2 separate regions of the Homo sapiens genome follow, and region 2 is linked to region 1. The links are contacts of gene promoters, found by promoter capture Hi-C in human tissues and cell types (Jung and others, 2019). All regions are on one chromosome and are shown on one strand. Each heading gives the region's core, a stretch centred on a gene start or on the middle of the fragment in contact. The rest is flanking DNA. Distances are from core to core; before and after follow the strand shown. Region 1 holds the start of PRC1 (protein regulator of cytokinesis 1). Region 2 overlaps IQGAP1 (IQ motif containing GTPase activating protein 1).

The links. Contacts are between HindIII fragments. The study calls those that stand out against the background at their distance.
Region 2: a fragment that was not itself captured here is called in contact with the fragment with the promoter of PRC1 in region 1 in 1 of the 25 tissues and cell types used here (spleen).

Annotation. Positions count from the first base shown.
Region 1 is chr15:90,989,458-90,997,224 of GRCh38, reverse strand. It overlaps PRC1 (protein regulator of cytokinesis 1), which reads left to right and starts at 2,690. Exons shown (of 15, transcript NM_003981.4): 1 at 2,690-2,818. The coding sequence starts at 2,808. LOC124903556 (a long non-coding RNA gene) reads right to left here and starts at 2,446. Exons shown (of 2, transcript XR_007064759.1): 1 at 2,290-2,446. RefSeq lists enhancers at 1,650-2,516, 2,517-3,384 and a silencer at 2,934-3,153. The HindIII fragment of the contact is 8,571 bases long and covers 1-5,995 here.
Region 2 is chr15:90,478,269-90,486,035 of GRCh38, reverse strand. It overlaps IQGAP1 (IQ motif containing GTPase activating protein 1), which reads right to left. Exons shown (of 38, transcript NM_003870.4): 27 at 3,936-4,076; 28 at 3,755-3,839; 29 at 2,443-2,675; 30 at 1,684-1,816; 31 at 1-6. Among named protein-coding and RNA genes, the nearest start is that of CRTC3, 48 kb to the left of the region's middle. The HindIII fragment of the contact is 5,949 bases long and covers 908-6,856 here.

The DNA of each region.
Region 1 (7,767 bases), core at 1,441-3,940:
TGGGAGGCCGAGGCAGGCAAATCACTTGAGGTCAGGAGTTTGAGACCAGCTTGGCCAGCATGGTGAAACTCTGTCTCTACTAAAATATAAAAATTAGCCAGCTGTGGAGGCGCGCACCTGTAGTCCCAGCTACTCATGAGGCTGAGGTGGGAGAATCGCTTGAACCCAGGAGGCAGAGGCTGCAGTGAACCGAGATCATGCCACTGGACTCCAGCCTGGGCAACAGAGCAAGACTCTGTCTCAAAAAATAAATAAATAAATAAGAATAATGATAATTCTGTATAAGAATATATTCCAAGGAAAAGGCATTCCTCAAGCATCTAGCTAGAATTTTGAGTGTTATGTCAAGCTAGTGTGCAAGACCAAAGACACTGCCAACAGGGCTGTTAATTCACAGAAAGAATAGGTGGCATCAGAAAAAGATTAAACAGTGGCAAAACATTGCACTTCCATCCAGTAGAAATATATGACCCTGTAATAGGATTTTTTTTTTTTTTTTTTTTTTTTTTTGAGAAAGGGTCTTGCTTTGTCGTCTAGGCTGGAGTGCAGTGGCGTGACCATGCCTCACTGCAGCCTTGACCTCCTGGGCTCAAGTGATCCTCCCACCTCAGCCTCCCAAGTAGCTGGAACTACAGGCTCATACCACCACACCTGGCTAATTTTTGTATTTTTTATAGAGACAGGGTTTTGCCACAGTGCCCAGGCTAAGGTCATATATTATAAACGCGTATTACACAGTGTTTTACATGCTGCGTTTATGCTCTGAATGGATATCTTTGCATCAGTTCTATGACTTTGTTAGCCTCAGCACCTCAGTGTAAAGGACAAGAGAGAAAAAATTGCCTTTTCTTTGGATACTTCATAATGCTGGTGCTAAGAACAAGTATGAAGATCACAAATTTGTGAAGCTTTCTGAAAAGCTCTCCTGTTAATTTAATCAACAAAGAATGCAAGTAAATTTTAAAAGTAGTGCTACCATCTACTCTATTAGTGGTGTCAATGTTAATCACAGAGTGCAAGGAAATTGAAAAAGTGGTGCCTGTCGCCCACTGTGTTGGTGCTGTGAATGTTTGGCATGCTGCTGACAAGTTAAAAAGAACATGGAAGCCGGGCGCGTTGGCTCACGCCTGTAATCCCAACACTTTGGGAGGCCGAGGCAGGCGGATCACCTGAGGTCAGGAGTTCAAGACCAGCCTGGCCAACATGGCAAAACCCCGTCTCTATTAAAAATACAAAAAAAAAAAGTATCCAGGCATGGTGGTGCGTGCCTGTAGTCCCAGCTACTCGGGAAGCTGAGGCACAAGAATTGCTTGAACCCAGGTAGCGGAGGTTGCAGTGAGCTGAGATTGGGCCACTGCACTACAGCCTGGGTGACAGAGCGAGACTCCGTCTCAATTAAAAAAAGTAAAAAGAACATTGAAAGCACTAATGAAGTTTTTCTGAAAATAAGAAAAATATGGTTCTGAAGGTGAAGCAAACAAGCATCCTTTACCTTTAGGGAAAAGGCATATGAAGAGGATTCACTTAAGTTACAGTTGGCCAATAAACACGAAAAATGTGCAATTTCAATTATAATCAAGTGCCAAACAAGGAAATGCCAGTATTATTATTTTACCTACAAAATGAGCAAAGATGTTTAGAAGTACAATAGAATTCAGCCCTGCTGAGGGTAACAAAAGGAGGGTACTTTTCCGGTGAGGCTTTGTGCAGAAGGCAAATTAATAAAGGGAGCATTCAGTAATTACACCTCTAGGAATCAGCCGTACGAAAATGCAGGATGCATTTATAAATACATACATACACAAAGATTTATGTATGAAGATATTCAGCCCAGCCTTATCTTTTAAATTATCATCTAAATATCAATAGCAGAATGGGCGAGATATCTACACACCAGGATTCATGCCACCATGCCACCATGAATCACTGGGAAAAAACGGTGATATATAAGCATTTAGGGATGTAACATGTTCATCGAGGAAAGGAGGCTACAAAAGTAATGTCTATTTTGAGTTTTAAATTTTTCATGTAACGATTTAGAAACTCATCTAATTTGATAACGTGACTTAGGCAAATCATTCAAATCTTTTTGCGTTTCCTCTGCAATGGCGATTGTGGAGGTTAAATGGGATAACTGGCGTTGAAACGTTCCAGGCCCATGAGCAGGACTCAATGTTCCTTCCCTTCCCCTTTAGTGTATGGCTTCTTACATCTGGGGAAGAGTCCCACCAAAGATCGATTCCAAGCTTCGCTTCTTGGATGAGCGAGGGAAACTAGGCGCTAACTTACCTATTCACCCCCGCGCCCGTTCCCGGCAGCCGGGACTCAGGGAAGCCAGGTAGCCGCGGTGCTCTCAACTCCCTCCCCGCCCGCGCACTTCGAATCCAAACTGCGCGGGGCGAGGCGGGGCGGCGCTCCGATGAGGTAGCTGGCTTGGGAGAGGAGTCCCTTGAGGCTGCCGCCAAGCCAGGGAAGCGGGAGGCGCAGGCCACGCCCGGCCACTCACAGACAGTGACGTCATCCCCCGCCGCCACTCCGGCGCTTCCCAGGCCCTGCTCGCGAGTCCCCACCCCGATTGCGCACCCGCGACTTCAGCCCGAGGGGCGGGGATTTTCTTGGAGCGACGGGACGCGACGCCAATCGCGACGAGGCTTCGCCCCGTGGCGCGGTTTGAAATTTTGCGGGGCTCAACGGCTCGCGGAGCGGCTACGCGGAGTGACATCGCCGGTGTTTGCGGGTGGTTGTTGCTCTCGGGGCCGTGTGGAGTAGGTCTGGACCTGGACTCACGGCTGCTTGGAGCGTCCGCCATGAGGAGAAGGTGCGGGTTGCGGGGAAATCGAGGGGACGCGGGAGGGAGCGACGCTCGTTTCGGCTGCGGGGCCTGTTCAGGGGTGCGGGACCCGTGCGGGGTCCCGGGCCTAGATCGTCACGGCAGTCGGCGCCGAGGGAGGCCGGGGGCGCTGAGGGGCAGGGTCTGGAGGCGGCGAGCCAGTGCGAGGGCCGCGGCGGTGAGACCTGACGCGCTGTCCGCCGGCGGCCGCAGGTGCCCGCAGGCTCAGACGCCCGGGTGGGAGCCGAGCGCCGGTGCCCGGACGCGGCAGGGTAGTCGAGGCCCGGGGCCCGGGGCGGCCTCCACCCAGGCGGTCAGCGCTGGCGCTCGGACCCCACCCTCCCCGCCCGCAGCGTCTCAGGTGCCGCTGCTTGGCGCAGATGACTCGTTGTAAACCTTCTGTGGTCGTGGCTTTTCTTTAAAGCTGTTAAGTTTATTTATCGTTGTTTTTCTTTGTTTTATTCTTTTTTTTTATTTTTGTGGAAACGCGGTCTATGTTGGCCAGGCTGGTCTCGAACTCCTGGCTTCAAGTAATCCTGCCACCTCGGCCTCCCAAAGTGTTGGGATTACAGGCGTGAGCCACCGTGCCCGGCCCGTTGTTTTTCTTTATATCTGGCCAGCGGTGTTAACGTTTTGTTTGAATTGGAAAGATAGCTTTGTTTCTTTGCAAGTTAAGAAACGGATTATGGAATTCTTTTCCGGTCGTTTTAATAACTTCCTAGGCGGTGTTGGGGAGGGACTGTCCGACTTGAAATCGGGACCAGACGGTGACACTGCCACTTACCAACCTTGTGACTTCCAAATATTAACTTTATTTTCTAAAAGTTGTGGATGCAGTTTTCTGATGATACAGCGTTAAATAATGTGTAGTTTTTGGTGGAACTGATTGTTCTAAGGCTTTGTAAGATTCTTCATTTCATGATCACTAATTCTGATCAGTCTTTTTAAAATGCTTGCCCTCAGAATAATGAGAATTGAGTGCCAACATGGTAAAACCTTGTCTTAACTAAAAATACAAAAATTATCTGGCCCTGGTGGCGCGCCTGTACCCCCAGCTTTTCAGGAGGCTGAGGCAGGAGAATCGCTTCAGCCTAGGAGGCAGAGGTTGCATGAGCCGACATCTCGACACTGCACTCCAGCCTAGGCGACAGAGTGAGACTACGTCTCAAAAAAAAAAAAAAAAGTCCATTAACAGTTTATGAATTATGTAGGCATCTCCTCTATCAAGGGATTGAATGAAGCAGGAGAAAACTTACCCTTTAATGTTGGTTCCAGGCTAATGGATATAATTAACTTTTTTTTTTTTTTTTTTTTTTTTTTTTTTGAGACGGGGTCTCACTCTGTCGCCCAGGCTGGAGTGTAGTGGCGAGATTGCTCACTGCAGCTTTGACCTCTGAGGCTCAAACGAAACTCTGGCCAGAATTAATTATGGTTATCGATCCCCGAAACAGGTTGAACTGGAGATCAACAAAGCTCCTTCTCTGGAATGCTAAGAAAAAATAGGGCAGTGGATCAGTGAAGGCTGCCTGAAGGTAGAAAATAATTTAAGGACCACTGTGAGATACCTTCCAGTCCAGTGATTTATGTTCAAGACTGGAAAAACTGACTCATTTTACAACCTTTTTGTCCTTGAGTGGTAGTCTTTGTATGCACTCTTGATTTTTTTCAGTGAATCTAAAAAAAAAACTCAGACTTGCTGCTTTTAGGGGATTATCTGAAACAATTTAGCCAGGGAGTATTTAAGTGTATCATGATAATTGTTCATAATGATTGCTCTGAAGCATCTTAAGATCATACAACTTTTTTGAAATGTCACGTTATTCATTCAAAAAGACTTCTTGGGCCTGGCACAGTGGCTCACACCTGTAATCCCAGCACTTTGGGAGGCCAAGGTGGGAGGATGACTTGAGCCCAGGAGTTCAAGACCAGCCTGGGCAACATAGCAAGACCCTGTCTCTATTTAAAAAATAATAATTTATACTAAAAAAGAAAAGAAAAATACTTCTTGAATGTTTGTTATATACAAGGAACCATTGCAAGTGTTGGGGATATAGCAGTGAGCAAAAGTGACATCCCTGCCCTCACAGAGTTTATATTCTAATAGCAAAAGAGGAGTGTAATAAATAAGTTAGTCTTAAATGGTGGTAAGTGCTATGTAGAGAAATCAAGAGGTTAAGAAGTACTGAAGGTGTAGGAAGGGGGGTTGTGGTTTTAAAGAGATGGGTCAGGAAAGGCCTCCCTGAGAAGGTGATCTCTGAGCAAAGACCTAAGAAGGAAAAGGGTGAAGCCATGCAGCATGGGGGAAAAGAGATCTAGGTAGAGGAATCAGCAAATCCAAGTGCCCTAAGGGGAGATAGCGCCTGGTATGTTCCAGAAAGAGCAAGGAGGTCGCTGTGACAGGAATAGAATGAGCACTGAGGTCAAAAGAAATGGCTTTCAGATGGAATGGGGCTCCATAGGTCTTTGGAAAGTCAGAGGCTTTTCCTTAGAGTGAGATGGCAAGTCGTTGGAGGGTTCTGAGTAGAAGATTAGGACTTGGGGCTCCTGTGTTGACAATGGACTTAAGGAGGCCAGCTTCGAAGCCGGGAGACCAGTTAAGAGGCCCCTGCCATACAGCAAGAAGTTGGTGGTGGTGACCTGGACCAGGGTGGGGGTGGTAGTGGTAGCAGCAGAGGTCAGGAGGAGTGAGATTCTGCCTGTCTTGTGTAGATAATGCTAATGGCGGGCATATAAGAAAGAAGTGTCAAGGATGATACAAGATTTAAGTTTAAAAAAAAAATTAAGTTCAGTACAATTTGAATGTTAGGAAGAGTGAGAAATGTTAGTTTTTAATTTGAAAATGATCCTCTTACAGGAAGTGTCTCTAACTAGAATAATAATAATGGGTGTTTGGTAATTCCAAACACCCATTTCCAACAGGCCAAATAAAATACGTTATATATTAGTAAAATTTTTATTTCTTTTTTTTTTTGGAGACAGTCTTGCTCTGTTGCCCAGGCTGGAGTGCAATGGCATGATCTCAGCTCACTGCAACCTCCGCCTCCTGGGTTCACCGGGTTCAAGTGATTCTCCTGCCTCAGCCTCCTGAGTATCTGGGATTACAGGCACCCACTACCACGCCCAGCTAATTTTTGTATTTCTAGTAGAGATGGGGTTTCACCATGTTGGCCAGGCTGGTCTCGAGCTCCTGATCTCAGGTGATCCGCCCGCCTTGGCCTCCCAAAGTGCTGGGATTGCACACGAGCCACCGCGCCCGGCCATAGTAAAAATCTGTAAGTTTTTCAATTAAGTCACAAATCAAAAACATTTCAGATTATGGGCCGGGCACAGTGGCTCACGCCTGTAATCCCAGCACTTTGGGAGGCCGAGGCGGTCGGATCACGAGGTCAGGAGTTTGAGACCAGCCTGACCAACATGGTGAAACCCCGTCTCTACTAAAAATACAAAAATTAGCCGGGCGTGGTGCCGTGTGCCTGTAGTCCCAGCTACTCAGGAGGCTGAGGCAGGAGAATCGCTTGATCCCAGAAGGCAGAGGTTGCAGTGAGCTGAGATCACACCATTGCACTCCGGCCTGGGTGCCAGACTGAGACTCTGTCTCAAAAAAAGAAAAAAAAAAGAAACCAAAAATGTTTTAGATTATGTGCCAAGATGTTTTTAATAACAGCTTTGAGGTATAATCCACATACCATACAATGTACTTAAATTGTATATTATAATTCAGTGATTTTTAGAATATTCAGAGTTGTGCAATCATCACTGCAATCAATTTTAGAACATTTTTATCACCCCTTTAAAATCCCATTAGCAGTCAATCCCCTTTCACCCCATGGTCCAAATTCTCCCCAGCCGCAACTACAAATCTACTTTTCGGCTAGGCAAGGTGGCGCACACCTATAATTCCAGCACTTTGGGAGCCCAAGGTGGGAGGACTACTTGAGCCCAGGAGTTCAAGAACAGCTTGGGCAACATAGAGAGACTCTACCTCTTAAAAAAAAAAAAAAAATTATTTATTTATTTATTTATTTATTTTATTTTTTATTTTATTTTATTTTATTTTTTGAGATGGAGTCTCACTCTGTCACCCAGGCTGGAGTGCAGTGACGTGATCTCAGGTCACTGCAACCTCCACCTCCCGGATTCAAGCAATTCTCCTGCCTCAGCCTCCCGAGTAGCTGAGATTACAGGTGCCCACCACCACACCCAGCTAATTTTTGTATTTTTAGTAGAGACGGGGTTTCACCATATTGGCCAGGCTGGTCTCAAACTCCTGACCTCGTGATCCGCCGGTCTTGGCACCCAAAGTGCTGGGATTACAGGAGTGATCCACCGCACCCGGCCTAAAAAAAAATTTTATTGTTTAAGTTAGCTGGGTGTGGTGGCTCACATCTGTAGTCCCAGCTACTCCGGAGGCTCAGGTGGGAGGATCACCTGAGCCTAGGAAGTTGGGGCTGCAGTGAGCCATGATCATGTTACTGCACTCCAGCCTAGGTGAAAGAGGGAGACCCTGTCTCAAAAAACCATACAAACCCCAAATCTACTTTTTACCTATTCTGGATATTTCATAAAAACGGAACCGTAGCTCTGGTCTTTTGTGACTTGCTTCTTTGACTTAACATAATGTTTTCAAGGTTTATTGCCAAATAATATTCCATTGTATGCCTATATACTACATTTTATTTACCCATTCATAAGTTGATGGCCATTTGTATTTTTTTTTTCACTTTTTGGCTATTATAAGTAATGCTGCTATAAACAGTTGTGTAGTTTTTGTATAAATGTGTTTTCATTTCTTTTGGGCAAATACCCAGTAATAAAATTGCTGAGTTGTATGAACTCTGTTAAACTGAGGGGCCGGGTGCAGTGGCTCATGTCTGTTATCCCAACACTTTGGGAGGCCGAGGTGGGAGGATTGCTTGGGCCCAGGAGTTCAAGACCAG
Region 2 (7,767 bases), core at 2,633-5,132, 510 kb after region 1:
CAGGAGCTGCAAACACCAATGATCAACTCCATTTATACATTCAACTCTTCAGCCCGTCCCTCCCTAGAATGTCTAACAATGATCTGCACAAAGAGGTTCCAACAAAGTTCCTATATTCAAAGAAACAACAAGCAAATCCTCAGCAAACTAACCCAAATAAACAATATGATATATAAGGCACCACACCAGGCTCTGTTGAATGACTTATGTTATGATATAAGAAGAGGAAATACTGGTATTCTCTTAACCTCATGGCCATAAAGGATTCAAATGTGCCCTGTTTGAGAAAGAACACTGGCTGGGTGCAGTGGCTCACGTCTGTAATTCTAGCATTTTGGGAAGCCAAGGCGGGTGGATCACCTGAGGTCAGGCGTTCAAGACCAGCCTGGACAACATGATGAAACCCTGTCTCTACTAAAAATACAAAAATTAGCTGGGCGTGCTGGTGTGTGCCTGTAATCCCAGCTACTAGGGAGGCTGATGCAGAAGAATTGCTTGAACCCAGTAGGTGGAGGTTGCAGTGAGCCAAGATTGCGCCATTGCACTCCAGCCTGAGTGACAGAGCAAGACTCCATCTCAAAAAAACAAAACAAAACAAACAAACACAAAAAACCCACAAAACACTGAAACTCAAAGTTCAATACCCAAAGTCATCAATGTACCCTACTGCCAGTTCAAATAAGTCACGTGCACGCTTTTACTTAATGTTTCCAGTGTATGACATGATTTAATTCAGAGAAAAGTATACCAAATCAATGTTATAATTATTGTAGGGGCACTCAACAAAGTCTTCAAGGTGCCATTATCCCCAGTGATGCCCTCAGAAATGACAGTAACCTGAAATTTCATTTACATTTTAACATATGCCCTTGTTCCTGTTTTACATGTCCATGTCCCCAGAGGGGAAAAAATGATTTGAAAAATCTGAAGAAACATGGAGCTCCAGCTTCCAAGGGAAAAATCCACTCCAAGGCTACACAGAGAAAGCTAGTATTCTAGATCATGTTAGAAAAATAACGCAGAGAGCTAGGGTAAAAAGAAAGAAGAGTAAAAGCACTATTTTATTAAGGCAATAGATAAATTTAGTGGGATTTTGATTCAGTAGGCCTGGGGCGGTGTCCAGGAAACTTCATTTTTAACTATCAGCCCATAGGATTCTGATGCAGGTGGCCTGGGAAGACCTTTTAGAAACTTAGCAGTAGATACTGTTAAGAATAACAAGCAAAAGGCCAGGCGTGGTGGCTCACGCCTGTAATCCCAGCACTTTTGGGGGCCGAGGTGGGCAGATCATGAGGTCAGGATATCGACACCATGCTGGCTAACACAGTGAAACCCCGTCTCTACCAAAAATTCAAAAAATTTAGCCAGGCACGGTGGCGGGTGCCTGTAGTCCCAGCTACTCGGGAGGCTGAGGCAGGAGAATGGTGTGAACCCAGGAGGTGGAGCTTGCAGTGAGCCGAGATCGCGCCACTGCACTCCAGCCTGGGCAACACAGTGAGACTCTGTCTCAAAAAATAAATAAATAAACAAAAAAGAATAACAAGCAAAAAAAGAGACATCAAGGAGATGCATTGTCAGTTAGATTACAGGAAGGTTAGACACCTGGCTACCAGAGATGATAAGCAGCAGCCAGGGATAATAATTAAGGACAATGAAATTAAGTAATTAAAGAAAAATACTTACAGTGTGGGTGTTGATGATTTCACCAATGGAAATGTAGATTACTGGTTTGGTGAGGGTTACTAAATCAGAGTACTCATCCACATTAAATTTATCCTGAAGCTCTGGGACATCACAAGCAGTTTGGAAAAACCGTCTGAAATAAGCACAGGAGGCAGCCCCCCAAAAAGGGACATACACATGAAGTTGGCAAGAGGACATTTCACAAACCTCTCACACAATGAGTGCAAACAGAAGCCAGTCAACAGTTACTTCAAGAGAAAGTGCTGTGTGTTTGCTGTGCTTGACAACCTTGGGATAGTGGTTCGAATAACTTCTTTCTCCACCTAGTTTGTAGTTTTAGTTTTACCCATAAGAACCATTGCACCATGACTTAAAAGTTTCCAGACACCATTAGGAGAACCAATTCTATCTCTAAGACAGTGCTCTGAAGCACTGAATTCAAAACTAGATGTTAATTTACAAAAATTAAAAGCATTCTCCAATTCTTCTCTGATTACAAGGTAACATGTACTAAATGCATAATCATCATTATTTTTATGTTAACTACTATCTATTTCATAAGTGTTAACTACTATCTATTTCATATGAAAATTCTCTTCAAAGTAAATGGATCATCTTCTGGAATCCTGGGCACATCAAACACGTCTTCTACATATGGCAGTCCGGGGAAAGTGAGAGGTGGTTTTTAATCTTATTTTTCCCCTCAACAATAAAAATACATCCACAGACTCTCTTAAGCACTTGTGCCTTTCCCCTTACCTGAATTTCTGGTAGGACTGGGAAAGATATTCATTAATGATGCTTAAGTGGGCATTATCTCCCAGAAACATCTTATTGGAAGCAGCATGCTGAAGCATTTTTGCAATGGAGCCCAGATTTCGGCGTTGGTCTGTGGTAAGCTGGCCTCCTGCTGACAGGTCAATGATGTCAAAGGCATCAGGAGCAACAATGGCTGGATTCATGTATCGATAATAAAGCAAGTTACCAATAATCTGGAACAGACGAAACAGAAAGATGGGTATTAAAAGACATACCACCAAGGAAGCTATAAATGACTTTGCTAGCAAAGAAAAGCAGAAAATGCAGTCCTATGAGGAAAAAATAAATAAAAAATACATATACACACGCATGCATGCACATATACACACTCTCTCTCATGGCCTGGAACTAAATGAAATATCCCTTTGTTCAATACAGGAAAACAATGAGAACAGAACTGAAAACTACTGCCAGTAGTTAATGAAAGAGCAGATTCAGAAGGTAAAAATGACACACTTAAAGTCTGTTATTAAGTATTTCAGGGCATCTTTTGTTCACATATCATGGTAGCAAATAAGGCTGCTGTCACCCACATGCACTTTGTACTTTCATGTAGATGGGCTTTCCTTATAAAAAGCTAACAAACATAGCTAAATTCCTTAACATGACCCAATCAGCATAGAGTAACCCCACCTCCCAACATTCTCATGCTGCAGACTTCAAAGGCCAAGTTCATGCCTCTGAAATTAAATTCACTTAACACACATCTCTTCCACAGAAGAATTCAGGGGCAGTCACAGCATTTCCCCTAGAGTTTCATTCAGAAGAAATAAAATTAATTCACCTGAACAGAAAGTCTAGAATCGAGGCCTCACTGTAGGAAAGCACAGAACTAGGAGAGAGAAGAAAAAAGCATTCAGATTAAAAAAAAAAAGAAAAGAGAAGAGCATAGCTGAGTAAGAAAGAGTTATCAGCAACAGCCTTAGCAGAAACAACTGTGCCTGCTACTATTCGCCAGGTCACCAGCAGAGGGAACAATACTACAGCGAAAAGATAGGACTCAAAGAAACTCATCTGAAAACAGGAAAAATCCATCTTTCTACTTGTTTGATGTTTGTGTGCCAAACTATAGGAAGTGTTTCATCCTAAGAGAGGTACCATTTACCAATTACAATTGCTTTCAAAAGCTCACAATCAATGGTAAGCTACTGCCAGAACCTACACTTAGGCAGTTAGTAATGATCTATGGTCAGCCCTGGTTTTATTGCTTTGTCCTCAAAGGGCAGGAGTCTGCCGGCTATGAGATTCTTACCTTCAGCAGCTCATCCTCACCAGCATCAGGGAACTTCTCATGCAACGAGTCCTTCAGCACTTTGGCAATGAAGCGCATCCCATAACTGCGGGATGGACAAAACTTAGTGAGAAGGGCCAAGGAGCAGAAAGGCACTTAGTGCTGGGTTCTACTGGGGGTCATGACAACTGATGGCACTCACGGGATTTTGTCCACAGAGCTGACAATGGCTGAGAGAAACTTGTCTGTCACAGCCCGCATGTTCCTGATGGAGCTGTCTAGCCGTGTCTTCACTTCTTCATGAGCTAGCGCCTGCTCAGGGGTCACATCATAGGGCAGTTTGCTGGGAAGACAGAAATTATACCCAACTATGTTAGACTAACAGCCAGGAACAGCCTGAAGCAAGTGTCTTATCTTTCATAAACTATAAGACCCAGAAATATTAGATAGCTTAAGCTCATCCTCACGGGGCTGGTAAGTGATAAGTCTAGAATCTGAACGCAGGTTTTTAACTGTGAATCAGGTGCCTGAATTGTGTGCCAGGCACAATAACAGGCACTTGGGAATAAAAGTTATACAAGACATGACACCTTCTCTTCAGTCTTTTACAGTCTGGTGGGAGCGACACACAAACAGATGATTATAAACCTATTGTGCTGTAAATCAGTTCACCAAAAGTGCCACAGGACCATAGGGAAAGGGCTTCAACTCAGAATGGAAAAAGCAAGGAAAGCTTCCAAAACGAAGGGATGCTTGAACTCAGGAAAAAAGGAGAGGAAGAGTCTTCTAGGAAGGAAGGGGAGACAGGAGAAATGACAGTGGAAAAGCAGACAGGGAGCAGGCCATGACAGACCCCGTATATGATACTGACAAATCTGGACTTTGTTAGAAACCAGAAGGAGGTCTTCAAGGATAGGAGTGCTATGCCAGGCACAGCAGCACATGCTAGCATTCCCAGCTACTAGGAAGGCTGAGGTGGGAGGACTGCTTGAGCAAGACCTTGTCTTAAAAAAAAAAAAAAAAAAAAAAAAAAGAGGCAGAGAGAGCTTTGGTACACACAGAAGGGGAAGAGAAGGCAATGTGACCACAAAGGCAGAGGCTGGAACCACACAGCCACAAGTTGAGGGATGTCAACAGTCACCACAAGCTCTAAGAGTCAAGAAACAGAGTTTCCACTAGAGCCTCTGCAGGGAGCGTGGCTCTTCCAGCACCTCGACTTCATGATAATGGTTTCAAATTTCTGGCCTCCACAATTGTGAGACCATGACTTTCGGTTGTTTTAAGCCACCCAATTTGAGGTGATTTGTTATGGCAGCCTTAGAAAATACAAGTAGAGGCCGGGTGTGGTGGCTCACGCCTGTCATCCTAGCACTTTGGGAGGCCGAGGCGGGTGGATCACCTGAGGTCAGGAGTTTGAGACCAGCCTGGCCAACATGGAGAAACCCCATCTTTACTATAAATACAAAAATTAGCCAGGCGTGTGGCGCATGCCTGTAATCCCAGCTATTCGGGAGGCTGAGGCAGCAGAATCGCTTGAACCAGGGAGGCAGAGGTTGCAGTGAGCTGAGATTACACCATTGCACTCCAGCCTGACCAACAGAACGAGACTCTGTCTCAACCACAACAACAAAAAGAAAAATACAAGTAGATAGGGATACCCCTCTTCATTTGTCATAGCATGGCTAAATTAAAATTGGTAGACTATGAACACAAAAATTCTGCAAAAATCAACAGAAACATTCTATGAGAAATAAATAAATACATGGAACTTAACAATAAAGAATATTGTATATTTTATTATTTATATGAGTTTTAAAAGTAGTAACCAGCAAGGGAATCAATATGCTAAAAAACGTTGGTGATAGAACAGAACATTAACTTTGAGATTTTAGGAAAGAACATTCCCAAGAGGTGACAAGATTCCAGTTTGCTACGTGTATGGTGGCTGAAGTAAAAGAAGAAAGCTAAGGGACCTGTGATGCTTACCTGCAGGACAGATCCCCACCACACCACCATCCCTCACAGTCACTGGTATCTTAAAAAGAGTTCAAATCAATTTCCTTTTTTTTTTTTTTTTTTTTTAAGATATGGGGTCTACATTGCCCAGGCAGTGCTCAAACTCCTGGGCTCAAGCGATCTTCCTGTCTTGGCCTCCTGAGCAACTGGGACTACTGGTGCATGCCACCATGCCTGGCTCAATTTCCATTTTATGAAAGGCAAAATAAGACACCAGTTTCTTATAGGTACCCACAAGAAAACCAATCCTGAAATGTCCAGCGGGCTTTGGATCTGAAAATGACTGACTCATGGACCATCAGAGGAAATAACTGAGAAGCCCGGAGCCAGTGTACATGGGGCTATCGGCAAGGAATGCCCTGGGTTGCAGGCAAAACTTCCCAGACAAGTATTGCACTTGGCTGACCACATTCCTGGATGTGGGCCTCAGGTATGCAGGCAAAAAAATTAAAAAGACTTTTGCAATGATCTGAGTCCTGATAACAGACCTACATGGTACTGAGAACCAATCAGATGCCAAATGATTCCTAATAAGGAAACGCCCCTTCTTTCTTTTTTTGTCAACCAGGATGGAGTGCAGTGGCGCCATCAAGGCACACTGCAGCCTCAACCTCCCATGCTCAACCTATCCTCCTGCCTCAGCCTCTGGAATAGCTGGAACTACAGGTGTGCACAACCACACCCAGCTAATTTTTTTTTTTTTTTTTTTTAAGTAGGGACAAGGTATCCCTATGTTACCCAGGCTGGTCTCAAACTCCTGAGCTCAAGCAATCCTCCCACCTCAGCCTCCCAAAGAGCTGGGATTACAGTCGTGAGCTACCATGGCTGGTGAGATAAGCCCTTTCAAGGAGTCAGCAGAATGTTCCGTTCTCCACCCAGCGTAAAACTCCCTGTTTGCCTGGCATCCGGGTACATGGAAAGTAGAATGAAGAATAGTGTTATTCAAAGTGTGGACCAGTGCCAGTCTACAAACTGATCAAAGACAAGATAAAGACAATGAGTCAGAATGTAAATCAATACATTACTTCCTTCATTAAGAAAATCTTGCTATGAAAAAAAAAGTATCAGTTAAACTAAACAGTGTGCACAGATGATTTTCCATTACTGGTGTGCAAACCACACTTTGAATAGCAATGGTGTGGACAGCTGCTACTCCACCTATGCCCAGAGAGCTTCATGCATGATCTAACTCTACTCCACAACAAGAAAAAACCACAACAGACCATGCTGCTCACACCTCCATCTCCCACCCCTCTGGGTCCTCACCCAAGACAAATAAAACCAGAAACGTTTTGGCATTCTGAACTCCCTTTTCCCAGCATTACCAATATTTGATTGGCACACTTTTGCTTTAGATAAATGAATGTTGGTGGTTACGCTATGGCCCTAGCTCAGCTATCTCCTGTAATACGTTAATTTAATTAGCCCAACTCACGATATTTCAGGGAAGCTCACTCCACACCGTTTTCTTTTTCCTTTAATGAAACACAGTGATCTCACCCAATCTATATGAACCTTCTCATTCAACTGTATCCCTAGTTATGCCAGGGTCCATTTAAGTCCTACACCCTCCAGCTTAGAGTGTTCAGACATAAACACTCTGCACCTAGCTCTTAGTAAGGCTGGGTTCATCTTAGCTTTAGGGCCTCAGCTAAATGAAATTTTATCTTCCGGGATAGGCTTTCCCTAACCACCTTATGTTAGCTCCCTCTTATAAAGTCTCCATTAAAGAACCGTACATAAAACTTCATAAAACTTTCTTCAATGTTTAATTATGCTTTTATTTTTATGTACCTGGTTGGTGTCTCTTCCACCCAATGAACTATGAAGAGAGGGCAGGAAGCATGTCTGTTTCACTCATTATTGCATTACTGTACACATCTCTAACACAATGCCTGGCACATAGTTAATACTCAATAAATATTTGCTAAATAAGTGAATTTATTACTAGGTCAACAACTTAGAAAGCACAGTTTTCTAAAGAAAAACTATTTGAGGCTGGGTGTGGTGGCTCACAG